5 separate regions of the Homo sapiens genome follow, and regions 2, 3, 4 and 5 are each linked to region 1. The links are contacts of gene promoters, found by promoter capture Hi-C in human tissues and cell types (Jung and others, 2019). All regions are on one chromosome and are shown on one strand. The core of a region is centred on a gene start or on the middle of the fragment in contact, and the rest is flanking DNA. Distances in the headings are between cores, read along the strand shown.

Region 1 (5,458 bases), core at 2,959-5,458:
TCAGTAGTAAGGTGGTAGGAATCATCTCGGGCAAAAATCCAGGTACCAGGTCTGTAGGCTGATGGAATAGCACAGGGAAGGTAGTCAGAAGGTCCAGGTGAACACTCAGCAATCAGGAGGCACAGGACTAGAAGGGGCAGGGACAAAACAGGTAAAATAACAAATGCATGGAATTACAAACACAGGACTCTAAGTGGGTCTGCTGTCAGCACATCGGCAGCCTGATGGCTGTTAATTCTTGATGAGCCTGGCTTAGGCAAAGACAAATGATAAATGAAAACAAACAACAGCAATCCAAAAAAGAAAACACAAAAGTCTGATTAACACTCTCGATTTGTGGGAACTGTCTCGCGAAGCAGCACACAGAAACTAAGCCTTATACTTTAGGAGAGTAATTTGATCGGATTCAGGGTACTGGGCATTTTTTGGTGAGGAGAGGAAGTGGCTCCACAAGTGCCATAAAAAGAACTGAGATTTTAAGTTTATATACCAACAATAAAACAAAGGAGACATTGCCCCTCTTCCTCTTCCAATGCCTTCCTCAAACTGTCTTATGACCTTCTCCTTTTAAAAAGCTGTCCTTTCATCTTAACAAGATTCCATCTTAAGTAGGAGAAAATAAGGTCTTGGTCCTTCTGTATGTAATACCCCATCATTCAACATATTGGTTTCTCCTTATGTCTGAGGGCTCCCTAGATCAAAATTTAGAATTAAAAAACATTAAAACATAAACATGATCCATATCTAGCGACTTTTCTCCTCATTAAGAGTAATGTAAGTTATCACATAGCAATTAAGAAAACACTTACTGAGTGGTTATTCTGATAGCCTGCTCTCTAAACTCCTCCTTCCTAATAAATGCATCTTGATATGTTGTGGTGTATGTGGGCAAAGATGCACTAAACAAGGACCCTGCTTTCAAGGAGTCTGCTATCTGCAAAGACAGTAAATGCAGGCAAGTAACTATTTTACAGGATTTTGTATACAGATAGAGGATACATAACGAAATGTCATAAAACTTTAAAGCTCTATTCTGGCTAGTTAGGAGACTCATGGAAAAGAGGGCATAAGAGTTGGATACTGAGAAAATGGCAGTTTTGACAGATGAAAAGCCACAGAGCAGCAGTTCCAAAGTAGAATGAGAGTATGAACAAAAGTGCAGAGATGGTAAAGGATAAGGCATTTTGGAAAATGGCAAGTACCATAATTCACTTTGGATGGAGCATCCTCAGTTTGCACTGAGGGTCTGGACAGAAACTCAGGTCTTCTAATTCCCAGTAACAGTGCTGGTGGTAGTGCTTGCTCAGTCGTTGTCTCTTTTCTCACAGCAAGGTCAACAGTCCCAAAATTCAAAAATAAAAAAAAATCTACCTCCAGTGTTCCTGCCGCATCGTGACAAGCTCTTTCGGGTTCCAGGTCCAGGTCTTGAAAATCTGGAAATCTGGAGTCCATGGCTGTGGCTACACTGAAAGTTATCTGCTCCAACTATTGCAGAACACTGTAGTGAAATCTTTTCAACCTCCAATCCTGGACATCTCATGTTTTGCCACAGAATTTCAAGCTTTGAGTTCCAGTTGTTTTTTTTCCCTCCTTTCTGCTGAGGAAAGCATCTTATCACCACAGTCTTAAGTCTTTTGAGGTACATCCGGATTTAATTACAAAAGAGCAAAAAGACCAACACTTTTTTTTCTCCAAGTCATTTCTCTGGAAGTGAGATTATCTGTCTCTGCCCTTTAGGAAAAGGGAATAGTCAATTGATTTTTTCAGACATTTGAATGAAATAGCATAACTGGCTAACATCTAATCAGACAAAATACACTTAAATGTGTTTGTGTTCACTTGCTTAGGGCTGTACCACTTGGTGAGCACCACTCCACAAAACGAAAATGTTTGAAATCCAATTGTTCAAACATTTTTATAGTGTTTGTTGGATAATGGCCTGAAATTTGATAAAAGCAGCTGACAACTAACAAAGAAGCAAAAACTGGCATCTTGGACATCCTAGTATTACACTTGCAAGCAATTAGAACACAAGGAGGGCCAAGGAAAAAGTTTAGCTTTGAATCACTTCCAAATCTACTGATTTTGAGGTTCCGCAGTAGTTCTAACAAAACTTTTCAGACAATGTTAACTTTCGATTAAGAAAGAAAAAAACCCCAAACATCTTCAGGAATTCCATGCCAGGTTCAGTCTCTTCCAGTGAGCCCGCTTGCTAAAAGTCCACGTGCACCATTAATTAGCTGGGCTGGCAGCACCATGTAAAAAGAAGCCTATTCACCACCAACCACACAGCCTAGACATGTAAAGTAGGATCAAGTAATGGATGACAACCATGGTCGTGGAATATGGTCAATGAGAGTCAGAAAAGTACAGGCACCAGTACAAGCAGCAGATAACAGAGTTGACGGGCCAAAGGATAAAATAGGCTTATTTAAATAGGATGCTACAGAACACATCCACTCCTAATTGTAGCTGCTTTACACTGGGTGCCATTGTACCATATGCATCAGCCACCCTTCAGGCACCCCATGGTGAAAGAAAAGGATTCAGAATAGAAGCCAAGCAGGGGACTGTTGTTAACCCCGAATATCCATTATGCATAGAAACAGCTCACATATCCCAGGGACTCAAACAGGGCTTCAAAATGGTTGTGAAGGGTCCCAAATGACATCTAGGCCTCAGTTTCCTCTCTGTAGCATGAAGAAATTGTGATTCTTAACTCTTCTGGGTCACAGCCCCCTTGGAAAACTTGCTAGCGATGGATCATCATTCCCCTAAAACGCACATTCCCACAAATTCCCATCATTCCCCCAAACCGCACATTCCCACAATTTCAGGAAGTTTGGGGATCCCCAACTCCAATCCAAGGTTCCCAGGTTCAAAACCCAAGGATTGGGGAACTGCTAAGTTTTCTTACAACTCAAAAAAAATTATAAACAATAACCATCCTTTACGTACACCCACGCTTTATAGTTTACAAAGCGATTTCAACCCCACACACATTGATAGGCAGAGGAGGAAACTGAGGCGCAGACAAATTACAGAGTGACTCGCCTAAGGTCACTCCGCCAACTGGTGGCTAGGCCCGGAAGAAAACCCAGCTCTTCCGACTCCGGAGCTCGTCTCCCCACCCCGGGGCTGCCGCCAGAGCTCCCGCCCCTCACTAAGGCGGCATAAGGAGGAAAAGGCAAAGTAGAAATCCCACAACCAACCATCCTCCGGCCCCCTCCTGCCCCCCCAACTGGGTCCTTGCAGGCCCCGAAGGGTGGCGCCAGGCCTCCAAGCCGGCCCCGGCCACCCCCGCCTCCCCGGCCGCTCCAAATCCCGCGGCCGCTGCCGCCGCCGCCTCCCCCGGAGCGGGGCGGAGCAGCTGCCCGCCGCCGCCGACCACCCGGACGACTCCTCGTCGAATCGCAAACGCATAGGCCGCCGCCCGAGTTCTGCGTACGAGAAGAAAGACGCGGCGCGAGCGCCAACGGCCACCGGGCGCGCGCCGCGGCGGCCGGGCCTGCGCCCCAAGAGCTGGATGCCAGAGCAGGAGAAAGAGCCGCCAACCGATCGCTCGATCGACCGCACGCCCGTTCCTTCGCCCTACCAGACCCGGGAGGGGGGGAGGGCGCGCCAGGGCTTCTTCGATTTAGGGGCCTGACTCCCCGGCGACGAGACAAGATGGCTCCTCCGGTCCGCACCGCAGCTACCGTCCCGGCTGCGTCGCTCGGCCCGCCCCCGGTACTGTTTCTTTAAATGGCGGAGAGGGTCAGGAAAGCAGGAAGAGAGGCGCACGCTGTCACGTGACAGGGGCGGGACCGGCCAACCAAGATCCGGTCACATGGGGACACGCAGCCCGCCAATCAGGAGGCTGTACATCAGGGCGGGGGCGGGAGGAGCTGCAGCTTTGTGATTGGCTGAATGCTCCGCGGAGGCCTCGGGGGCTTGGGGCGTCGGGGAGTGTGCGAGGTGGCCGGGGCTGTGTGCACTATCGGAGACAAAGCGGTGGCTGTGGTGTCTGTGACGGCGGCGGCAGAGCAGCTCTAAACGCCGAATTTCGTGTTGCTGAATCCTGTCACCATCTCAACTAGCGCGGCGCGCGGGCGGCGCGCGGGCGGCGGCGGAGGCAGCGGCGGCGGCGGCGGAGGCGGCAGCAGCACATGGTTCCAAGAGCGCTCTGCGGCTGTTGGGTTCCAATTCCGCGGGGAGGGACAAAGGCAGTTGTGAGATCCGGGTAGTGCCCGGTCAGGTGGTGCGCTCGCCACTGCCCTCGATCCGGTCCTTGGAAGCCGGGAGTAGCTCCTCTTCGTGGGGAGGCGGCCACGGGACCGAGGCCCGGGAAGGGCCTGGGAGGCTGAGGCTGTTGTCTGAGGGACGTGGGGGCGGGGCGCGGCCTGCCCGAGGTGCTGTGGGCGGGTCATTTGTGAGGTGTTTATGTGGGCCAAGTGTGAGGTAATCTGACCACCACCCTGAACTGGGTTTGGTCCGGCTTTGAAAAAAGAAATCGTGAGTGCCTAGGAGCTTTTTCACTTGGGAGGTGGTGAAGCTGCAACTTGCGCCATATAACACTCCGTCGACATCTTGGTCTCCGGTCTTGGGCCTGTTTAAGAATCCTGGCATCACGTGTGGCGAAGACATGGCTGATCAGTTTTCTGACAGAAGTGGGTAAATTTCCGCGTTGGTAAATTTCCTGACAGGAAATTTCGGGGAACCAAAAAAGGCTGGAAGAACATGAAGATGGAGCAGTCATAAACCACCCACTCAAGGACCATCTCCTTCAGGACCATCCACACGAGACTCAGATTGTCTGAATTGAGCTATCGCAACTTAATGCTAAAAGCTCCTTAAAGCTACAGATTTATGACATAGTTCCTTCCAAAATATTACATCATAAATCATTGAGAAGATTAAAAAAAAACACTTGAAGAAATTGTAGTTTTAAACATCTCTGCATATATTTTGGATAGCTACTAGGTTACTTTAACTGTCATTAAGGAGCACAGACTTACTGAAGCTTTACTGGACAGAATCCTGGGAAATCGATATCATTATAAGGTTATATTTCCCAGTTAGCGGGTGAAGGGCTGGAGACCTTATTGCAGTCATGGCTTTCACAAATTACAGCAGTCTGAATCGAGCTCAGCTAACCTTTGAATATCTGCACACAAATTCGTAAGTATCCTCTAGGTGCCACTGAGGTAACCAGTAACTCGTTCCTTGATATTATATGGAAATCGTTTCCCCAGAAAATTTTGCTTTTTCACTTTTTGAGATGTATCCCACTGGAGTGAAATGTGTCACTGGATATCTTGAGCTCTGTATTGAAGAACTGAGATCAGTGAAATACTTGTTGCTAATCCAGAAGAATCTGATTTTTGTTTATTGGATCAAAATTTTCTAAATGCAAACTTTAGTTATTTGAAGTCAATATGTTGAGTTGTTTCATTCAAGTGTTTATAGGAATCCAACA
Region 2 (6,105 bases), core at 2,686-5,185, 240 kb after region 1:
CCCATTAACTAAATAAATGGGGGAAAGAGGACAGATATTCCTAAACAAAAGTAGATGAAATTATGGACACAGAAAAATCACTAAATGCAATACAGAATCTTGGATTGAATTATAAAATAGAAAAAAAGAGACTAATGGAATTTGAATAATGTTTGGAGTTTAGTTAATAGTATTATAATGATGTTAGTTTTCTAGTTTTGAGAATTGTACTTTGGTGAGGTAAGATGTTAACACTAAGGGGAGCTAAGCAAAGAGTATATAGGAATTGTCTGCACTATTTTTCTAACTTTTCTGTAAATCTAAGTTATTTCAAAATTTTAACAATTTAATGCTGCTATCACCTTCTCAGGGTCACAGCTGATAGCAAAGTCTTGTAGCCAGAACCTGAACTCATCTGCCCAGGGTCAGGGATTGGATGGGAGATATTCCCAATGTCACTCAAGGGCAGAAGCCCCAAGCCCCCATCATAGGATCTGGTTCTAGACGGGACTCTCCAGGGGACTAAGTAAAGGCATTTTAAAAATCACTAGACAAAGAAGAGTGGGTGAGGCTGAGGGAGCGAGGGAGGGAAGACCTCCCAGTCGAGATGAGCCTGAAAACCAAAATTCAAAACCTGTGAAGAAAACCAATGCTAATAAAGAAGCCAATGAATTCAATGCTTAGAAGATGAATCACTTCAGGCCAGGGATGGTGGCTCACACCTGTAATCCCAGCACTTTGGGAGGCCGAAGTGGGTGGATCTCTTGAGGTCAGGAGTTCAAGACCAGCCTGGACAACATGGTGAAACCCCATCTCCACTAAAAATACAAAAATTAGCTGGGCATGGTGGTGTGTAGCTGTAATTCCAGCTACTCGGGAGGCTGAGGCATGAAAATCACTTGAACCTGGGAGGCAGAGGTTGCAGTGAGCTGAGATCGTGCCACCACACTCCAGTCTGGGCAACAGAGAGAGACTCTGACTCAAAATAAATAAATAAATAATAATTTTTTAAAAATACCAAAAATTAGCTGGGCATGGTGGTGCACACCTGTATTCCCAGCTACTCGGGAGGCTGAGGCACAAGAACTGCTCAAACTTGGGAGAAGGAGGTTGCAGTGAGACGAGATCATGCCACTGCACTCCAGCCTGGTCAACAGAGTGAGATGAGACTCTGTCTCTAAAAGAAAAAAAGAAGAAGAAGAAGAAGAAGAATCGCTTCAGCCATAATAATATGAAAAGTATTTAATATAAATAGGTTTAGGATTCTCAAAGATAAAGAATAACATCAGTAAAAGGGGGATAGGCTGGGGAGCAGTGGCTCACGCCTGTAATTCCAGCACTTTGGGAGGGTGAAGTGGGAGATCACTTGAGGCCAGGAGATCACGACCAGTCTCGGCAACATGGTGAAACCCTGTCTTTACAGAAACCACAAAAATTAGCCAGGCATTCCAGCCTGGGTGACAGAGTTAAGACCCTGTCTCAAAAAAAAAAAAAAAAAAAAAAGAGAGAGAAGAGAAGAAAAAAGAAGAAGAAACAATTTAATGAAATAGAAGTTGATAAAAATGAAACAAGAGCAGGTAGATATGAATAAGTAACATGAGCACTTCAGAAAATGAAAATATAGCAGATTAGTTTTTCTAGTCACCCAGCATCCAAATCTAAATTGATCCTTTACTCATTCTAGTTAGTGTTACTTTTTATTAAGGGTTTTATTTTATTTTTGAAATAGAGTCTCACTCTGTTGCCCAGGCTGGAGTGCAATGGTGCAATCATAGCTCACTGCAGCCTTGAACTCCTGCGCTCAAACAATCCTCCTGTCTCAGCCTCCCAAGTAACTGGGACCATAGGCATGTGCCACCATGCCAGCTAATTTTTTTTTGTTTTTGGTAGAGACAAGGTCTCACTATGTTGCCTAGGCTGGTCTTGAACTCCTGAGCTCAAGTTATCCTCCCACCTTGGCTTTCCAAAGTGCTAGGATTATAGGCATGAGCCACCAACCACACCCAGCCTCTTACTTTAACTTTTCAGTTTTATCTTTCTACATTATTTGGAAGGAATTATACAGTGAAATATATAAATGTGGGGGCTAACAACCCTTAAAATTATCAAGATCTGATACATTTGCTAGTCTTAGAATTTAGCTCTGCTCTTCTCTTTCATTTAGATATTTTATGTTCAATCCATTTTTAACCTGTAGCCAAGGTATTATTTTTACCTTTTTTATTCAGTTTTAAAAATTTTTCAATGGCTTCAAACTCAGTCCTGAAAGGGTCTAAAATTTAGGGATGTATCCTAAAATCCAGATTGTTGTTTAGGAGTAGTGCACCTGCTCATGTTGTAAATAAATGATTTTGTTTCTCCCACTGTGAGTCCTGGCTGAGGTAACCCTCTCTATGAAGGTTAAGCTTCCAGGGAAGTCCAATAGTCCAGACAGTGGCAAAGTTAAAGCCCTGCTCACAGTACACTATAGACCTGGGCCCTGCAAGCTGCAGTGGTAACTCCTCTCCCGCAAGAGGCTATGGAGGTGTGCAATATTCCAGAACCATCTGGTCTCACTGAGCCCTAAGCAGCTTCAGTGGCCTCACTACCAGCCATGATCTAAGGCCTCCCAGTTTCATCAGGGCTCATATCCAAAATACATGATAATGTGGCCAGGCATGATGGCTCATGCCTATAATCCCAGCACTGAGGCAGGCAGATCACTTGAGGCCAGGAGTTCGAGACCAGCCTGGCCAACATGGTGAAACCCCGTCTCTACTAAAAATACAAAAATTAAATGGGCCTGGTGGTGCATGTCTGTAATCCCAGCTACTCAGGAGGCTGAGGCAGGAGAGTCGTTTGAACCCAAGAGGTGATGGTTGCAGTGAATGGAGATCACACCACTGCACTCTAGCCTGGGTGACAGAGCTAAACTCCGTCTCAAAAAAAAAATGATAATGTATTTTCTGCCACTTTTAAGGAGACATGTTTTGAGGCATTACTTTGATATCTGATTTAGAACAAATATAAACAAAATACTAAACATCTGCAGTACAATTTAACTGCAAGAGAATTTACCACAACCAACATCCCACTAAGTTAACTACACCGATTCTCAACAAAATAATACTCGCAATGACCCCAGTCACACTCTCACCTCTGTCAAGGATTCCAGCAATCAGAACTTGGAAGCCTGTAGTAGTTAATGCATTGCTTTTTAGGCCATGGAGACCATCTATGGTTAGCGACTTACATAGTTGTATTGGACCCAAACCTTGTACATCAACTAAGAATGGTGCACCTCCTCCGTCCCCTCTCTCTCTCCTCCATTTAAGCCAAGTCGCCCCTGCATTTTTGGGCTTGGGAGTAGTACTGCATCTCAGAGTATGCAATCTGGTTTCCTGAGTGGTCACCGACAAGCTGGATTTTTGCAACCCACAGTATGGAAGGGTTAGTGACTCACAGGTTAAACAATGAGCAGTGGGAAATGGGAAGTGGATGGAAACCAGGCCAGGAAATGCTCTTCATTTATCCCCCCTGCAGATCTCTCCAAGGTATCTTTGCAAACCTTCCAGAGAAGTCCATGAGCCCAGAGAACATGAGTGGCCTCTGTGAGCCTTACAGTTTGCTGCAAAGCAGTGGCGAGGTCTTGAAGCCTCATGTTACTTTGCATCCTCCCCTTGCTTTCCTTCCTCTTTTGCCTCCCCAGCACCAAGGCTCATCTCGCGGCTCCACTGAGTGCCCGATCTACCAGCAGTAGAAACCAACACGGAACCCTCCTTGATATGGCCCATCCTTGGGAAGAGCCAGACAGCCACTAACTATATCAGACCCCTTCCACCTTGGAGGGATACACAATTTATCCTTCATGAAACGGAAGTGCTTTTTGGTAATGAGGTTGCCTTCCCTGCCTGTAGTGCCTCCAGCAGCACCATGGTCCAAAGTTACTGAATGCCTCGTGTGCTGGCCTGGACTTCCATTCGATACAGCCTTATACAAAGTGGCCCATTTCAGCCTAGCAGCTGTGCCAGTGACTCCTGGCCATAAATTCACTGGAATCACAGGAACCCAGCTGCACTAGGGGGCAGCGAGCCTGACAAAACAATGGAATGGCCTACTGGCTTAGCGGGGACACCGAGGGAGAAATACCCCTCAGGTTTGAGCCTCTGTCCTCCAGGATGCCTTGAGCTGACAACTGATATCTGGTGCCATGTCCCCCACAGCTACAGCAGACAGGTCCAGGAGTGGCCCTGCTCACCATCACGCATGGTTGCCCTTTGCAAGGTGTGTGCTTCCCATCCTCACACACTTGGGATCAGCTGGGTTAGAGGATCTAGTCCTGGGGTAAGGGAGGAATGTGAAACAAAGATTCCACTGATCTGGACACTGCCACAACCACTTGGCCACCTACGGCTCCTCATGCCAGTGACCAACAAAGAGGGGAGTGACTCTACTGCCAGGGGAGTGACTCTACTGCCAGGGGAGTGACTCTACCGCCAGGGGTCACTGATCCTAATTGCCATGAGGAATTAGGTGAGTGGCCCATTTGGAAATGGGAGGAGAATGTCTGGAATAAAACCCAGAGGACTCCTTGGGATATCTCTTATTTTTATTTATTTATTTATTTTTTGAGACAGAGTTTCACTCTTGTTGCCCAGGCTGGAGTGCAATGGCGCTATCTCGGCTTTCTGCAACCTCCGCCTCCCAGGTTCAAGTGATTCTCCTGTCTCAGCCTCCCGAGTAGCTGGGACTATAGGCACCCGTCACCACGCCCAGCTAATTTTTGTATTTTTAGTAGAGATGGGGTTTCACCATGTTAGTGAGGCTGGTCTTGAACCCCTGACCTCAGGTGATCTTTCCACCTTGGCCTCCCAAAGTGCTGGGATTACAGGCATGAGCCACTGTGCCTAGCACCGGTATCTCTTAACATTTCCATGATTGGTAACGGCTGATAATGAGCAAGGCCAACAACACATGCAGACCACTCAGCGCAAACATCACAGACCAGCCAGAGTGCTGGCGGAGAGTGGAGAGGGTCTAGGGTGGGTAGTGCAGGAGGGAAATGATGAGTAACAATGAGCACACCAGGACCGGCCACAGCAGCAGCAGATGACCTTGTTTCACAACCTTCTTGCTTTATTCTTCCTGGTAACCCCAGTGGGCCAGCACCAGGAAATGGCTTCTGTCACTGATGGGATTTGTACCTTCCTGCTCAGGGAAGGAATGAGGATGTTTTTGTTCTCCAAGGAAAACGGAGATTCCCACATTGAAGTAGGAGAGCTGATATCATGGGAGGGCACGAGCAGACCTGAGTAGCGCAAGGTGTGGACTGTATTGGACACAAACCTTGTGCGCCTTCTCAGATTCCCTCGACCACCTCCTTCTTTGTCTCTCTCGATGATGCCTCATCCAGGTCACGCCGTACCTCCACTTCTGGGCTTGTATGAAATGCCACCGTGGAAAATAGGATATGAAAAGAACAGGTCAGATGAATCTCCCCCCACTCTTCCCTCCACGGATGGCTCTGAGGTGTATTTTCTTCTTGTGTAAGTTCTGGAAAAGTCCATGTGCCAGGCAAGCATGCTTGCTGAGCGACCCACCGTGTCTCTGTAGCTCGCTGTGAAGTCTCATCCAGCAAGGGAATGAGCTGGGTGGTCACTTTGATCTCTCCTCTGCCACTTGCCATTGCTCCTTCACTGCCCTGGGATTGCACCTCCCAAAGTGTCAGCTCTTTATTTTTCATTTATTTATTTATTTATTTGAGATGGAGTCTCACTCTGCCGCCCAGGCTGGAGTGCAGTGGCGCGATCTCGGCTCACTGCAACCTCCACCTCCTGGGTTCAAGCGATTCTCCTCCCTCAGCCTCCCGAGTAGCTGGGACTATAGGCGCCCGCCACCACGCCTGGCTAATTTTTTGCATCTTTAGTAAAGACAGGGTTTCACAGTGTTAGTCAGGATGGTCTCGATCTCCTGACCTCGTGATCCACCTGCCTCGGCCACCCAAAGTGCTGGGATTACAGGCGTGAGGCACCGCGCCCGGCCAGCATTAGCTCTTTAATCCCTGCCTTGGGCTATGTTTTCCAGAAGCCCTTCCCCAAAAATGTCCATGGGAAAAAAAAAAAAAATTATATATATATATATATATAT
Region 3 (5,578 bases), core at 239-2,738, 210 kb after region 1:
TTAAAGCTGCGAAAGTGACTATCAATAACTGCAGCTTACTTTAGTCGAGTGTTTGCCAAGCCGTGTGCCAAGATCTCTTCACACATTATCTAAACTAATCCTCACAGCACCTCTAAGAGTTGGTTCTATCATGAAACCCATTTTACAAAGGAGAGAAATGATGCAAAAGACGGCAAGCAACTTGTCCAAGGTCACACAGTGGGTAAGTGTGGGAGCCACGATTTGAACCCAGGCAGGCTGGCTCCAGCATCTCTGCTTCCACTGACTTAGAAATCTTTGATTGAAGGGACCCTGGGAAGCACAGAATTGAAGCTTCTAGGGGACTGACAAGCGGGGACTCTGAGGCTCTAGGAAGCCCATGCTCAGACTAACTGCTACGCTACCATGCTCGAGGGGCTGAGCCAAGGAGCAAACACCTGGGAGCAAACATCTGGCCCAGGCAGGAGGCTGGCTCAGAGAAGGCTTTCCTGAATGGCCTCTCCCTGGAGGGTAAACAGACTTGAGGAAAATAGGGTGTGGGAAGGGGCTGGATACTAGGGAACAGACCTTGCCAACAAGAGGTACAGCATTCACGCTGGCTGGCAGCAAGATGGTGTGCCAGTGAAGACAGCAGAAGCTGGATGGGTCTAGAGCGCAAGAGGAGCCAGAGAAGAGACATAAATCAAAATTGCATTTTTTTTTTTTGGAGACGGAGTCTTGCTCTGTTGCCCAGGCTGGAGTGCAGTGGTGCAATCTCAGCTCACTGCAAGCTCTGCCTCCTGGGTTCACCCCCTGCCTCAGCCTCCCGAGTAGCTGGGACTACAGGCGCCCGCCACCACGCCCGGCTAATTTTTTGTATTTTCAGTGGAGACAGGGTTACACCGTGTTAGCCAGGATGTCTCGATCTCCTGACCTCGTGGTCCACCCGCCTTGGCCTCCCAAAGTGCTGAGATTACAGGCGTGAGCCACCGCGCCCGGCCCAAAATTGCATTTTATTTTTATTTTATTTTTTATTTTTTATTTTTTGAGATGGAGTCTCACTCTGTCACCCAGGCTGGAGTGCAGTAGTGTAATCTCGGTTCACTGAAACCTCTGCTTCCCAGGTTCAAATGATTCTCTCCTGACTCAGCCTCCAAATAGCTGAGACTACAGTTGCACACCACTATGCCTGGCTAATATTTCTATTTTGGGTAGAGATGGAGTTTCGCCATATCGCCCAGGCTGGTCTCGAACTCCTGGGCTCAAGTGATCCACCCGCCTCGGCCTCCCAAACTGCTGGGAGTATTATAGTTGTATGGTTTACATTTTGAGTTAAATTTTATATAAATAAGAAGTATAAATCAAGATTCATTTTATTGCATATGGATGTCCAATTGTTCCAACACTACTTGTTGAAAAGACTAACCTTTCTCAATTAAATTGTTTCTGCACCTCTGTCAAAAGCCATCTGACCATATTTGTCTGGGCCCATTTCTGGACTCTCCATTCTGTTCCATTAATGTATATGTCTATCTCATTAATCTATATAGTGTTTGCCAACATCACACTGTCTTGTTTCTTTATGATAAGTCTTAAAATTGAGTAATTACTCCACCTTTATTCTTCTTTTTCAAAGTTGCTTTAGCTAGTCTAATTTCTTTATCTTTTCATATAAATGTATAATAAGTTTGTCTATGCTGAGAAAATGTCCTGCTGGGATTTTTTTTGGAATTGCATTCAAGCTACTGATCAGTCAAGGGAAAACTGACGTCTTTACTCTCTTGAATCTTCTGATCCATGAGCATTGTATGTCTCTCCATTTATTTTGGTCTTCTATTTCATCAGTATTTAACACTATTTACATATAGATACTATATTTGTTTTGTTATAATTATATCTAAGTATTTCATGGGGTCATTGTAAGTGATTTTTAAAAATTTTTTGTTACCAATTGTTCATTGCTAATACACAGAAATATGACTGGCCTTTATGTACTGACCTTGTATTCTGTGACCTTGTTAAACTCACTCTAAAAATATTTTTGTAGATTTCCTGGGATTTTTCTACACAGCCATCATGTCGCTTGCAAATAGGGATAGCTCTGTTTCTTTCTTCCCAATCTGAGTGCCTTTGACTTCTTTTTTCTTGCATTATAATACTGGCTAGTATTAGGATGAATATGAGGGGTGAGCATGGACATCCTTGACTTTACTGATCCTAGGCGGAAAGTAAAGCATTCAGTCTTCTATCACTACATATGATGTCAGTTTCTTGAAGATGCCCTTAATCAGGTGGAGGAGTCTCCTAGTTTGCTGAGAGTTTTTACCATGAATAATGTTAAATTTTGTCAAATGCCTTTTTCTGTATCAATTGATATTATAATGTAGTTTTTCTTAGATTGTTAATATTATGATTCCATTTATATTGATTTTCTTTTTTTTTTCTTTTTTTGAGACAGAGTCTTGCTCTGTTGCCCAGGCTGGGGTGCAGTGGTGCGATCTCCACTCACTGCAACCTCCGCCCTGCCAGGGTTCAAGCGATTCTCCTGACTCAGCCTCCTAAGTAGCTGAGACTACAGGTGTGCACCACCATGCCTGGCTAATTTTTGTATTTTCAGTAGAGACAGGGTTTCACCATGTTGGCCAAGCTGCTCTTGAACTCCTGACTTCAAGTGATCTGCCTGCATTGGCCTTCCAAAGTGCTGGGATTACAGGTGTGAGCCACTGCCCCCAGCCCCATTTATTGATTTTCAAACATGGAACCTATCTTGCACCTATCTTGCACTCATCTTGCACTCCTAGCATGAAATCCACTTGATCATGGTGTAATATTCTATTGTATTGCTGGTTTCAAATTGTTAATATTTTGTTGAAGATGTTTTCATCTATGCTCATGAGAAATATTGGTCCGAAGTTTTCTTTTCTTACACTATCTTTGTTCAGTTTGGTATCAGGGTATGCTGTCCTTATAAATGAGTTAGAAATTACTCACTCCTGTAATCCTAGCACTTTGGGAGGCCAAGGCGAGCAGATCACTTGAGGTCAGGAGTTTGAGACCAGCCTGGGCAACAGTGCAAGACTCTGTCTCAAAAAAAAAAAAAAAGCCGGGTGCAGTGGCTCACGCCTGTAATCCCAGCACTTTGGGAGACCAAGGCAGGCGGATCACCTGATGTCAGTAGTTCAGGATGACCCTGGCCAACATGGTGAAACCCTGTCTCTACTAAAAATACAAAAAAAAAAATTAGCTGGGCGTGGTGGCACATGCCTGTAATCCCAGCTACTAAGGAGGCTGAGGGAGGAGAACTGCTTGAACCTGGGAGGCAGAGGTTGCAGTGAGCCAAGACTGCACCACTGCACACTCCAGCCTGGGCAACAGAGCGAGACACTGTCTCAAAAAAAAAAGAAAAGAAAAATTAAAAAAGAAAAGAAATTACTCATTCCTCTTCTGTTTTCTGGAAGAGATTGTGTGGAAATAGTGTTATTCTTTTTTCAAATATTTGATAAAATTTACCTGTGAAATCATGTAGGCCTGAAGACTTCTTTTTTGAAGTGTTTTAAACTATGAATGCAACTTCTTTAATAGTTATAGGATTATTCAGTTTATGGATTTGATCTTGGGCAAGTGTTAGAATTTGATTTTTGAAGAATTGGTTCATTTCATCCAAGTTGTCAAATTTGTCAGCAGAGTTGTCTGTAGCATTCCTTTTATGTATTATGTATCTATTTTATGTTTTTGTAGTATTGTCCTTTTATGTTTGTTAGTGCTATTAATTGTTTATTTCATTCCTGATGTTGGTAATTTGATATTTTCATTTTAGCAGTCTATCAAATAAGTTGGGTTAAGGCCACAGGTAGTGACCAGCCGTCTCTGGGTGGTGGTTTCACTGTTTGTTCCATTTTCAAAGCCTTTGCAGTACTATTTGTTTTTGTTTTTGAGACAGAGTCTTGCTCTGGAGTGCAGTGGTGCAATCTCGGCTCACTGCAAGCTCTGCCTCCCAGGCTCAAGCGATTCTCCTGCCTCAGCCTCCCGAGTAGCTGGGATTACAGGTGTGCACCACCACGCCTGGCTAATTTTTGTATTTTTAGTAGAGACGGGGTTTCACCGTGTTGGCCAGGCTGGTCTCGAACTCCTGGCCTCAAGTGATCCACCTGTCTCGGCTTCCCAAAGTGCCAGGTTACACTGCGCCCGGCCCTTTGCAGTACTAGTTGGATCTGTTCCACATGTGTGCCAGCCAGTGGCCACAGGGACGTGGGTATTCATGCAGCTTTAAGTTCAGTTCTCAAAATCTTTAGTATGCTGTTTAGGATCAGATCCATCCATGTGCGGCTTGAACGTGAAGCCAGGAGTTCATGAAAACAACGTTATGGGGTCACTTTCCCAAGGTGTTCTCTTTCTGTGATTTCCTGTTTTTTTCTGGTTCTCTTGGGCTCTGTTTCAGTCCTCTGGCTGCCCACTTCCCACCACCACACCTATATCGGGGGCTAAGTGGTAGGAAGAGTGAGAGAAAAATGGAACAGGGGTTCCCTCACTTCTTGGGCCCAGAGCTCTTCCTACTGGTGTGCATGGATTCCTCTGAGTTTTTGGTACCTGCAGGCCTCTCATCGCCACTGCTATCACTGACAGGGGACCCTTTCCTCCTTGAGCCTGAACTAGAGGGCTTCTCCAGGAGTTTTCTCTGTCTGCTCACTTCTGGGTCTCCCCTGAGTCCACTCTAGAAGATACTGGAGGGAAAAAATTGTAACCTCACCACCTGTTTGGTGTTACCTCAGATTCTGGTCTTCTCTAGTCTGCTTGTGGCTACTTAATTTTCAGGGTGCTCAAATAGCTGCTCTGTGCATTCTGTCCACATTTTATTTTATTTTATTTTTGAGACAGAGTCTCGCTCTGTCACCCAGGCTGGAATGCAGTGGTGCCATCTCGGCTCACTGCAACCTCTTCCTCCCGGGATCAAGTGATTATCACACCTCAGCCTCCCCAGTAGCTGGACTACAAGCGTGCGCCACCACACCCGGCTAATTTTTGTATTTTTAGTAGAGATGGGGTTTCACCATGTTGGCCAGGCCGGTCTCGAACTCCTGGCCTCAAGTGATCGGCCTGCCTCAGGCTTCCAAAGTGCACGGATTACAGGCATGAGCCACTGTGCCTGGCCCTGTCCATGTTTCATAGCTGCAGAGTGAAACCTTCTCACTTAATCCTACCTGGAACTGGAACTGAGCAGAATTGGATTTTAAAAGACTCACTCTTGCTGTCCAGACTCTGGGAGGTCAGATAGTGAAACTGGGTTGGAGGCCAGGCAGATGGAGGGCAGTGGGCAGATGTGAAAGTGCTCAGGTCTGGCACTGACAGGATCTGCTGACAAGCTGCACATGAGGGATCAGGGAGGGCAGGACTCAAGGTGACACCCAGGTTCACTTCTTAGTCATCTGCCAGGTCTGGAAAGTGACCTGAGACCTTGGCTAGTACAGTTTCAAAGTAGTGAGTGGTGGGTCATATGCAGTGGGAAGAGGCCAGGAGAGAGGTTGAGGCTACAGGAGTGACAAAACAGCAATAAGGCTGGGTGCAGTGGCTCATGTCTGTAATCCCAGCACTTTGGGAGGCCGAGGCGGGCAGACCACTTGAG
Region 4 (5,936 bases), core at 3,151-5,650, 220 kb before region 1:
CTGGCCCACATTTTTAATTTCTTTCTCTCGTTTATTTAGTTAACACATATCTACTGTGTACCTACTATGTAGGCCAGGACAGTGGAAAATGCAGGCATGGCTTCTGTACCTCACATACCAAGTATCTTTAGCTGAGTACACTTTGAACTCAAAGGATAGTTCCTTTTCCAATTCCTGAACCACAGTTTAGCTTCACAAACCAAATACACAATCTTCCTGGCCATAACATCTGACTCCAACATTAATCTTGCAATGTCATTCTAAACTGAGTGGAGAATAACCCCAAATCATGGCAGATCTCCACTGGCAAGTTCCCTTAAAGACTCTAGGGGAGAAGTGGAGGTGAATGAATGACCCTCAGGGGAAAGTCAGGCTTTATAACAACGACCATTCCTCCCATTTATTAAGCAACGATAGTCATGTATCACTGAACGACAGGGATAATTCTGAGAAATGTGTCATTAGGCAATTTCATCATTGTGAGCATCACAGAGTGTACTTACACAAACCTAGCTGAAATAGCTTACTACACACCTAGGCTACATAGTATAGCCTATTGCTCCTAAGCTACAAACCTGAATAGCATGTGAGTATCATAGGTAACTGTAACAGAGTGGTAAATATTTGTGTATTTAAACATACCTAACATAGAGCCAAGGTGTGGTGGCTCATGCCTGTAATCCCAGCACTTTGGGAGCTGAGGTGGGCAGATTATTTGAGGTCAGGAGTTCGAGACCAGCCTGGCCAACATGGTGAAACCCCATCTCTATTAAAAATACAAAAACTAGCCATGTGTGGTGGCACATGCCTGTAATCCCAGCTACATAGGAGGCTGAAGCACGAGAATCACTTGAACCTGGGAGGTGGAGGTTGCAGTGAGCTGAGATCGTGCTACTCAATCTGGAGTGCTACTGCACTCCAGCATGGGTGACGCAGTGAGACTCCATCTCAAAAAAAACCAAAAACCAGGCTGGGCGTGGTGGCTCACGCCTGTAATCCCAGCACTTTGGAAGGCTGAGGCGGTTGGATCACCTGAGATCAGGAGTTCAAGACCAGCCTGGCCAACATGGTAAAACCCCGTCTCTACTAAAAATACAAAAATTAGTCAGGTGTGGTGGCACGTATGTGTAATCCCAGCTTCTCGGGAGGCTGAAGCAGGAGAATCGTTTGAACCTGGGAGGCAGAGGTTGCAGTGAGCCAAGATCACGCCACTGCACTCCAGCCTGGGCAACAGAGTGAGACTCCTCAAAAAAACAACAAACAAACAAACAAAAAATCCAACATACCTAACACAGAAAAGGTAACGCACTGCTCTATAACATTTTAAAATCACTAGATTATAGGAACTTTTCAGGTCCATCATCATCTTATGGAACCGCTGTTGGATATGTAATCCATTGTTGACCAAAATGTCATTATGTACTGCATGACTGTACTGTGTGCCACGCTGTGGCTGAATACCTTTTCATTTCTTAATGTCACTGGACGGTCACATTAACCTATGAGGCAGTACCATCATCTCCATCTTACAGATGAGGAAACCAAAGTACAGGGAAGCTAGCAGATTTGCTCAGGGATGCACCATCCAGACTGGAAGCATCTGTTTCATTTTAGAGTCTGTGTTCTTTCCAATGGCATTCTGCCTTTAAAAAAAAAATTGATAGCAGGCATGGTGGCTCACACCAGTAATCCCAGCACTATGGGAGGCCGAGGCGGGCAGATAACGAGGTCAGAAGATCGAGACCATCCTGGCCAACATGGTGAAAACCTCTCTCTACTAAAAATACAAAAATTAGCTGGGTGCACCTGTAATCCCAGCTACCCGGGAGGCTGAGGCAGGAGAATTGCTTGAACTTGGGAGGCAGAGATTGCAGTGAGCCGAGATTGTGCCACTGCACTCCAGCCTGGTGACAAAGCAAGACTTCGTCTCTAAAAAAAAAAAAAAAAATTTGACACAGGGCCAGGCATGGTGGCTCACGCCTGTAATCCTAGCACTTTGGGAGGTCGGGGTGGGCAGATCACTTGAGGTGAGGAGTTTGAAACCAGCTTGGCCAGCATGGCGAAGCCCCATCTCTACTAAAAATACAAAAAGAAAATTAGCCGGGCGTGGTGGTGCATTCCTGCAGTCCCAGCTACTTGGGAGGCTGAGACAGGAGAACCACTTGAGCCCAGGAGGCAGAGGTTGCAAGTGAGCCAAGACTGCACCACTGTACTCCAGCCTGGGCAAGAGAGCAAGGCTGTCTCCACAAAAAAAAAAAAAAAAAAAAAAAAAAAGATATACAACAGCTGTACATTTAAATATATGTATAGTTAATATATACATAAAATACATAATTTATAATCTTAAAATTTATAATTATAAAATTTAATAAATACATACACAAACACAAACACACACACACACACACACACACACACATTTTTTTTTTGAGACAGAGTCTTGCTCCATCACCCAGGCTGGAGTGCAGTGGCGCGATCTCAGCTCGCTGCAAGCTCTGCCTCCCGGGTTCACGCCATTCTCCTGCCTCAGCCTCCCCAGCAGCTGGGACTACAGGTGCACTCCACCACACCCGGCTAATTTTTTTTTTTTTTTTTTTTTAGTAGAAACGGGTTTCACCGTGTTAGCCAGGATGGTCTCGATCTCCTGACCTTGTGATCCGCCCACCTTGGCCTCCCAAAGTGCTGGGATTACAGGCGTGAGCCACCGCGCCCAGCCCAGAATATATATATATTTTTAAGAGACAGGGTCTCTCTCTGTCGCCTAGACTGGAGTGCAGTGATACAATCATAGCTCACTGTAGCCTCGAATTCCTGGGCTCAAGCCTTCCTCCCACCTCAGTCTCCCGAGTAGCTAGGACTACAGGTACCGCCACCATGCCTGACTAGTTTTAAACATAGTGGGGCCTCACTATGTTGCCCAGACTCATCTTGCACTCCTGGGCTCAAGTGATCCTCCCACCATGGCCTCTCAAAGTGTTTGGATTACAGGTGTGAGCCACTGAGCCCAGCCATAATAGCTGTACACATTTTTTATGTTATATGTGATAATTTGATACATTCACATAATCAAATCAGGGGTATCCTGTCTTTGAATTCTTAATTTTGTCAATCATTTCAAGTCCTGGTTTTACGATACCCTGAAGTATCCTGAATTTCTAGGAGAATGTGGATCACAACAGCTTTTACACAAGATGGTAATTAGGGCAAGAGCCTCAAGAACAAAAATCTCTGCTCCATTCTATTTATTCACCAATAAATTGATGTTTTACGCTGTTGCCAACTTAAAATCCCTTAAATATTGTTTAAACGGCCTTTTCTTCACACGATTTCTCTGCTCAAAAATATTCATTACCTCTATGTCCCTTTAGTCGAATCTGGGTTTGATAATCTGGCTCAACACTACTGTAACCATTATTTTTCCTAACACTCCCAGACCCTCATCCAGAGTGCTGTGAGAGGTATACAGTAGCCTCAAGGGTCTCAGATGAGTCCAACAGTGCATGTGCCTGTCCCTAGAAACTCCCTGCCTTGGAGTGACACACACACCCTTCGCCTTTACCTAGCATTTTTTGATCGACCTTTCAAGGTTCAGCTCAAAATCTCAAGACAAAAAAAAACACACACACACACACAAAAAACCAAAATCCGACCTTCACCTAGCACCTAGGTTCTCAGAGCCAGAAAGGGCTCCTGTAACCGTCAAGGCTGGAACAGACACCGACCTTGACACTTCATTTTGATGAGTGTATCTATCTATATATAAACATAAAATATAGTAACAATTATAGTCATAGCTAACACATAGTATTTACTGCAAGCTATGTGCTCTTCTAAGCCTTTTACATATTTTGAGTCATTTAATGCTTGCAAACGACCCTGTAAAATGAGGCAGAATGTGTGTAAGTACCTTGTCCAAGGTCAAACAGGAAGGTGGCAGAGTCAAGCTTCAAAAGGAGGAAGCCCAGTTCCACAGTCCTTGCTTATAACCATTATGCTATACTGCCTCTAGGCTCAGCACAGCAAGTAGCAGGTAGTAAGTGCTCACTAAATGGTAAGTATTATTACTTTAGAGATGGGGAGAACGAGCTTAGAGTGGAGACAGGATTTGCCCAAGGTCATCCAGCTCATTGGTAGCAGAGCTGGGATGGGAACTCAGGTCTCTTGTCCCTTGAGCCTGAGTGTATTCCCAAAGTGAGCAGGAAGCATTCTGCTCCAAACCACCCAGGGCCACAGGCTTTCCAAACTTGGCAATGTGCTCTCTGGGGTGGAAGTAGGGGTACTGACCAGAAGAGGTGGCCACACAGGCTGATGACGGCATCCTTGGCTGTGTCCAAGCAGATGTTGCACTCGAAAGTGCTGTCCTGCCCTCCGCTCTCGCCAGCGCCATTGCTGCTCCCACTGGGCCCCCCTGCACTGGAGTTCTCAGGAGATGCAGAGGCCGAGGGCCCCTTGCTTGCCATCCTTGGCTGTCAGCGAAGCTCTGAGTGAAGACTTTCCCCAGGGAAATCCTAAAAGGCAGAGAACTCTTGACTGTCCATTTCTGCAGCCCTCTCCCCCCAGCTTCCATGCCAACATTCCTGTCTTCTCTAGGCTCCAGAGCTGATTATGACTGAATCCCTGAGCAGACTTCCCAAAGCGCTACAGAAGACAAGAGTTGTAGGGCACTACCCAAAGGGCAGTGACCCAGAAACTTCTCATGAATATGGTCCAGAATATATCACACAGATACGCAAACTCCACCAAATACAGAGCAGCCTCCAGATGGTTCTCCACAGGAACCAGGACCTTGTCTCACTTGTCTTTAGATTCCCCCATGACAATCAACCCAGGTGACAAATACATGCTACATTAAATGGAATGTTCAGGCTGTCCAGCCTCTATATTGATGGGTGAATCTGCTGAGGCAGGAAGGTTGTGATTGTCATATGCCAGAACATATATATATATTTTTAAGAGATGGAGTTTCACTCTGTCGCCCAGGCTGGAGTGCAGTGGCACAATCTTGGCTCACTGCAACCTCTGCCTCCCAGGTTCAAGTGATTCTCCTGCCTCAGCCTCCCGAGTAGCTGGGATTACAGGTGCCTGCCACCACACCTGGCTAATTTTTGTATTTTTAGTAGAGATGGGGTTTCATCATGTTGGCCAGGCTGGTCTTGAACTCCTGACCTCAGGTGATCCACCTGCCTCAGTTTCCCAAAGTGCTAGGATTACAGGTGTGAGCCACTGTGCCCAGCCCATACGCCAGAATATTAAGAAATTCCTGTAACTATGAAAGGATAGGAAGCTAATAAGGACCAGAAAGATCATCTGGTCCAAGGTCTTCCATATTGCAATCTTTTTCAATCCTCCTTCTGCCACATTGGAATACTATTCACCTTATTTTATCTAAATATATCAACTTTTTAGCCTCAGTACATTTAAAGAAGAGGTTTATGTCACTGTAATAAATGGAAAACCAGTAATACTTACCATAAGTAAAAAGGTTAATATAAAAGTAACAAATGAAAAGTTTACCCTCATACCACCTGACATCACCTGGCACACTCATACTATGTTTTGGACAATCTTGATCTGGTCCAATTTCTTTAGGAAACTGCAGTTACCTTGGCTAGCTGACTAATGTGGGGCTGAGACTGGGACTCATGGACACCCTGTTTGCACCGTACCACTACATACTAAACTGGCCACTAAATGCTGGTATAAACAGACCACTGTTGACCACCACCTCCAAGTCAAAGAACCCAGCCAGGAGTTGAACAAGAAAGAGGATAAAACCAACACCAAGGGATACCCAGGAATTCTGGATGCACATTAACAATCTGTCAGGAGCCTTATCTGGCCACCCTCATCACCTCAGAAATTCCAAGTAGGAAATGTTCGCTGGCTACCACAGTCAGAGAAGTGGAGGCCTGGATACTGGACTCAGCCTCTAGCTT
Region 5 (5,517 bases), core at 3,009-5,508, 180 kb after region 1:
ACAAAAACAAATTTTGGCTGGGTGCCGTGGCTCACGCCTGTAATCCCAGCACTTTGGGAGGCTAAGGTGGGTGGATCACTTGAGGTCAGGAGTTCGAGACCAACCTGGTCAACATGGTGAACCCCCCTGTCTCTACTAAAAATATAAAAATTAGCTGGGCTTGGTGGCATGAGCCTGTAATCCCAGCTACTAGGGAGGCTGAGACATGAAAATCTCTTGAACCTGGGAGGTGGAGGTTGCAGTAAACTGAGATCGTATCACTGCACTCCAGCCTGGGCGACAGAGTAAGAACCTGTTTCAAATAAATAAATAAATAAATAATTAAAAAAAATTAAACCCAATGGTTCTTATCTAAAGCACATATATTAACAAAGAATAGAAGATAATTTAAAATAACATAGGGTAGTAGAGTTTAATATCAAAATTATTTCCCTTGTAAATATATTTATGTTTACAATGTTCTAAAACTTGAGATTCATAAGGAGTAAAAGCAAGAAAAACAAATTCAACCCTGAGCATCATCCTTGTGTCCTTGGTTAACCAAGGGGCCCTCAGTGAGGTCGATCCAGCCCAGGAGATCAGCATTTCCCTCAGCAGTCACCAAGAAGCTATATCCACATAAAGCCAGGGCCTTGTGTGACTCTCCTCCTAGATCCTAGGAAGTTCTCAAAGACTCAATGCCTTCCTTGCATGAAGCCCATGGCAGTTAGGGCAATCAGAGAAAATACTACAGAAGAGAAATGTAAACTTTCAAAAATACAGATGGCTGAAATGTCAAGAACCAGTGAGAGAAACCACTTGGCATATCTAGGGTGTTCAAAGCAGCTTGACTGGCAAGGAGCCAACTTGAAAATAATTATGGTTAATAAGTTTTTAAAAAAGGAAAGATAAAGGACAAAATGGATGAATACATGGAGCATTTCAACAGAATTGGAAATCTATACAAATAATCAAATAGACATTCCAAGATTTAAAAACATATCTGAAGCTAAGAATGCACTGGAGGCTGGGCAGGGTGGCTCATGCCTGTAATCCCAGCACTTTGGGAGGCCAAGGCAGGCGGATCACCTGAGGTCGGGAGTTTGAGATCAGCCTGACCAACATGGAGAAACCCCATCTCTACTAAAAATACAAAATTAGCTGGGCGTGGTGGCGCATGCCTGTAATCCCAGCTACTTGGGAGGCTGAGACAGGAGAATTGCTTGAACCTGGGAGGCGGAGGTTGTGGTGAGCCGAGATCATACCATTGCACTACAGCCTGGGCAACAAGAGTGAAACTCCATCTCAAAAAAAAAAAAAAAAAATGCATTGGATAGGTTTAACGGCAGAATGGATAAAAAGAATGGAAAAGATAGAAGAGTGCATAAAGACATGTGGTTCAAAAAGTCTAATATACATGTAATTTGTGTCCCATAAGAGGAAGAGAGAAGAGAGAACAGGTTCAGAAGCAGTTTTGGACGAAATAAAGGTGATGAATTTTTCCCAAATATGGTGAAAGACATTAACCCACAGATTCAAGAAGCTCAATGAGACCCAAAAAGGAGAAACAAAACAAAATCTTACCTATACACATCATAGTCAAAGCCCTGAAGACCAAAGATAGAAAATCTTAGGTCAGGCCCAGTGGCTTACACCTGTAACCCCAGCACTTTGGGAGGCTGAGGCAGGAGGATTACTTGAGCTCAGGTGCTCAAGACCAGCCTGGGAAGACGATGAGATCCCATCTCTACAAAAAAATTTAAAACATCACCTGGGTGCAGTGGTGTGTACCTGTAGTCCCAGCTACTTGGGAGGCTGAGGCAGGGGAATCACTTGAACTGGGAGGTGGAGGTTGCAGTGAGCAGAGATTGCGCCACTGCACTCCAGCCTGGGTGACAGAGCGAGACTCTGTCTCAAAAAAAAAAAAAAGTAGTTATATAAATATTGATTGCTTAAAACAATAACAATTATGCTTTGTGGAATGTATACATGTATGAATAAAACATAAAATAACAATAATACGAAAAGTAACGGGAATTTTTTTTTTTTGAGACGGTCTCACTGTGTTGCCCAGGCTGGAGTGCAGTGATGCAATCTCGGCTCACTGCAACTTCCACCTCCCGGGTTTAGGTGATCCTTCCACCTCAGCCTCCTGGAAGATATTTAACTGTTGTTAGCTTCTTAAATTGTCTGGGAAGTAGCAAATTAATAACTTAAAGTAGATTATAATATATCAAATATTCATATTATAATCTCCTTCATTAAAAAAAGAAGGTACAGGGTGGGCGTGGTGGCTCACGCCTGTAATCCCAGCACTTTGGGAGGCTGAGGCGGGCGGATCACTCGAGGTCAGGAGTTCAAGACCAGCCTGACCAACATGGTGAAACCCTGTCTCTACTAAAAATATAAAAATTAGTCGGACATGATGTCGGGCGCCTGTCATCTCAGCTACTCAGGAGGCTGAGGCAGGAGAATCACTGGAACCCACCGGGAGGCGGAGGTTGCAATGAGTCGAGATCGTGCCACTGCACCCCAGCCTAGGCGACAGAGTGAGACTCCGTCTCAAAAAAAAAAAAAAAAATGAATAGAGGAGGAGAGAATAAGATAATTTTATTTATTTTTTAAATTATTAAAAAACATTTTTTTTAGAGACCAGGTCTCACTATGTTGCCCAGGCTGGTCTTGAACTCCTGGGCTCAAGTGATCTTCCTGCCTTGGCCTCCCAAAGTGCTTGGATTATAGGCGTGAGCCACCATGCCTGGCTTGAAGTAATTTTTAAGTGCTTGCTTAATAATTTTAAAAATGAGATAGAAGGATGTCCATGTTATGGCATGTGTCAGAATTTCCTTCCTTTTAAAAGCTGAATAATATTCCAGTGTATGGATGTACCACATTTTGTTTATCCATTCATCATAAATGAACACTTGGGTTGCATCCACCTTTGGGCTACTGTGAATAATGCTGTATGAACATGGGTGTACAACTTAGACCACTTTTTCTTAGAGATAGGGTCTTACTCTGTAGTCCAGACTGGAATGCAGTGGTGCAACCATAGCTCACTGCAGCCTCAAACTCCTGGGCTCAGCCTCCCAAATGACTAGGACTATAGGTGTGCACCACCACGTGGGTCTAATTTTTTATTTTTTTATTTTTTGAGACAAGGTCTGGCTCTGGGACTATAGGAGCATACCACCATGCCTAGTTAATTTTTGTATTTTTTTGCAGAGATGGGGTTTTGTCATGTTGCCCAGGCTGGTCTTGAACTGGTAAGCTCAAGTGATCCTCCCACCTTGGCCTCCCAAAGTGTTGGGATTACAGGCATGAGTCACCGTGCACAGCCTAGTTTTTTTGTAGAGATGTTTGTTACCCAGGTTGGTCTTGAACTCCTGTCCTCAAGCAATCGTCCAGCCTCAGCCTCCCAAAGTGCTGGGATTACTGGTGTGAACCAGTGTACCCAGACCTAAATCCTCTTTTTTCCCAGGCTGGAGTGCAGTGGTGTGATCTCAGCTCACTGCAACCTCCACCTCCTGAGTTCAAGTGATTCTCCTGCCTCAGCCTCCTGAGTAGCTGGGATTACAGGCACCTGCCACCACACCTGGCTAGTTTTTGTATTTTTAGTAGAGATGGGTTTTCACCATGTTGACCAGGCTGGTCTTGAACTCCTGACCTCAAGTGATCCGCCCACCTTAGCCTCCCAAAGTGTTGGGATTACAGGCGTGAGCCACCGCACCCGGCTCCTAAATCCTTTTTCAAGTCAACCTTTTAGCTGAACTACAATCTAATTTACTCTTATCTTCAGTTTTGAGACAATGTGGTGGACTGGATGGAGCAGAAAACCTGGAATCAGATAGTCTTGGATTAAAATCCAGGCTCTGCCATTTACTAACTCAGTGATTGTGGACAAGTCACTTGGAAGATGACCCATAATGCATGTAAACATGCCAGGCACACAGTAGGCACACATAGTGGTGATTATTAACATTACTCACATGAGCTCAGACCACCTCCCCAGTGTTAGGCTGGCTGGGGAATATGAGAGACTGTGGCCCTCACAGTGCTGGTGTGGAAGACCGGAGGCTTGTGCTTTTCATAGGGTTCACTTTCTCCCGAAGAGACAAGACAAACCAAAACTTGTAAGAGCTGCCAATCAACTTTTATCTCTATAAAACATGTTGCCAACCAATGATAATTGGCCGAAGAGTACAGTTCATTTTGCTTGAGAATATTACTTCTATTCATCTGACTTTAATTGCCATATGCTGGTGGCAAGACCAGATTATGAATGATTCATGCATAGACACAATGACTAATTAAACCCTAAAGAGACTATTCATTAAAAAGTATAAATGCAAACTTTTTACCCGTGGGCCTGTAAGTAGATGTCTGCAGGAAGCATTTACAGGAAGGTTTATAACCTCAGTTTCTTCTGTAAACAATACTGCAGATGGTGGATGAAAAAAATACTTGTATTCATAAACTATTTCTTATCATGCAAACCATAGTGATTGATAATTCTTTTTTTTTTTTTGAGACAGTAGAGTCTCGCTCTGTCGCCCAGGCTGGAGTGCAGTGGTGCGATCTCAATTCACTGCAAGCTCCACCTCCCGAGTTCAAGCAATTCTCCTGCCTTAGCCTCCTGAGTAGGTGGGATTACAGGCATGTGCCACCACACCTGGCTAATGTTTCGTATTTTTAGTAGAAACGGGGTTTCACCATGTTGGCTAGGCTGATCTTGAACTCCTGACCTCCAGTGATCCACCCATCTCAGCCTCCCAAAGTGCTGGGATTACAGGCATGAGCCACTGCACCTGGCCTGATTGAAACTTCTGTATGCGGTTCCTAAATACTTTGTTTTTTCCTGTTTTGATTATGATATTTTATCATAATCTCTCTGACTCTATATATTTGGTAATACTTATCTATATACCCATTGAGTGATAATAATCTGTATACCCACTGATGTGGGGGCAGAATAAGAGGGTTCTTAAACCATTTATTATAAAGGCTCCTGAAATCCCCACTGGCCTGGGTCTAGCCCTGAGAGATGATGATGACCTTCCTATCTTGCAGCTCTTCCTAGCTAAGACACTCTTCCATTCAACAATTCATTTTTCTCTATCCGCAAAGCAGAATTAAGATTGACAATGTATTTCACAAAACTGTGGCACGGATACATTAAAGAGACAGGACTGATTTTATTTAGAATGCCCCAATATGAGCGGGGCACGGTGGCTCTCGCCTGTAATCCCAGCACTTTGGGAGGCCGAGGCGGGCGGATCACTTCAGGTCAGGAGTTTGAGACCAGCCTGGCCAACATGGTGAAACTGTGTCTCTACTAAAAACACAAAAATTAGCCAGGTTTGGGGGCACACGCCTGTAATCCCAGCTACTCGGGAAGCTGAGGCACAAGAATCGCTTGAACCTGGGAGGTGGAGGTTGCAGTGAGCCGAGATCACACAACTGCACTCCAGCCTGGATGACAGAGCCAGACTCTGTCAAAAAAAAAAAAAAAAAAAAAAAAAGAAGAATCCCCCAATA

The links. Contacts are between HindIII fragments. The study calls those that stand out against the background at their distance.
Region 2: a fragment that was not itself captured here is called in contact with the fragment with the promoter of MORC2 in region 1 in 1 of the 25 tissues and cell types used here (thymus).
Region 3: a fragment that was not itself captured here is called in contact with the fragment with the promoter of MORC2 in region 1 in 2 of the 25 tissues and cell types used here (liver and mesendoderm cells).
Region 4: a contact is called between a fragment that was not itself captured here and the fragment with the promoter of MORC2 in region 1, in 2 of the 25 tissues and cell types used here (IMR-90 fibroblasts and lymphoblastoid cells).
Region 5: a contact is called between a fragment that was not itself captured here and the fragment with the promoter of MORC2 in region 1, in 1 of the 25 tissues and cell types used here (dorsolateral prefrontal cortex).

Annotation. Positions count from the first base shown.
Region 1 is chr22:30,967,524-30,972,981 of GRCh38, reverse strand. It overlaps MORC2 (MORC family CW-type zinc finger 2), which reads left to right and starts at 4,208. Exons shown (of 26, transcript NM_001303256.3): 1 at 4,208-5,160. The coding sequence starts at 5,093. TUG1 (taurine up-regulated 1) reads right to left here and starts at 3,717. Exons shown (of 3, transcript NM_001396518.1): 1 at 1,203-3,717; 2 at 1-127. The coding sequence starts at 3,625. The coding sequence ends at 3,164. RefSeq lists a silencer at 3,197-3,446 and an enhancer at 3,477-3,806. The HindIII fragment of the contact is 8,152 bases long and covers 168-5,458 here.
Region 2 is chr22:30,730,788-30,736,892 of GRCh38, reverse strand. The region is part of intron 1 of OSBP2 (oxysterol binding protein 2); the gene reads right to left. MIR3200 (microRNA 3200) reads right to left here and starts at 5,336; the gene lies at 5,252-5,336. The HindIII fragment of the contact is 9,479 bases long and covers 1-6,105 here.
Region 3 is chr22:30,757,649-30,763,226 of GRCh38, reverse strand. The region is part of intron 2 of OSBP2 (oxysterol binding protein 2); the gene reads right to left. Among named protein-coding and RNA genes, the nearest start is that of MIR3200, 29 kb to the right of the region's middle. The HindIII fragment of the contact is 5,000 bases long and covers 1-3,988 here.
Region 4 is chr22:31,185,619-31,191,554 of GRCh38, reverse strand. It overlaps RNF185 (ring finger protein 185), which reads right to left. Exons shown (of 7, transcript NM_152267.4): 2 at 4,285-4,508. The coding sequence starts at 4,460. Among named protein-coding and RNA genes, the nearest start is that of LIMK2, 24 kb to the left of the region's middle. The HindIII fragment of the contact is 6,585 bases long and covers 1,108-5,936 here.
Region 5 is chr22:30,791,306-30,796,822 of GRCh38, reverse strand. The region is part of intron 2 of OSBP2 (oxysterol binding protein 2); the gene reads right to left. Among named protein-coding and RNA genes, the nearest start is that of MIR3200, 63 kb to the right of the region's middle. The HindIII fragment of the contact is 4,158 bases long and covers 2,180-5,517 here.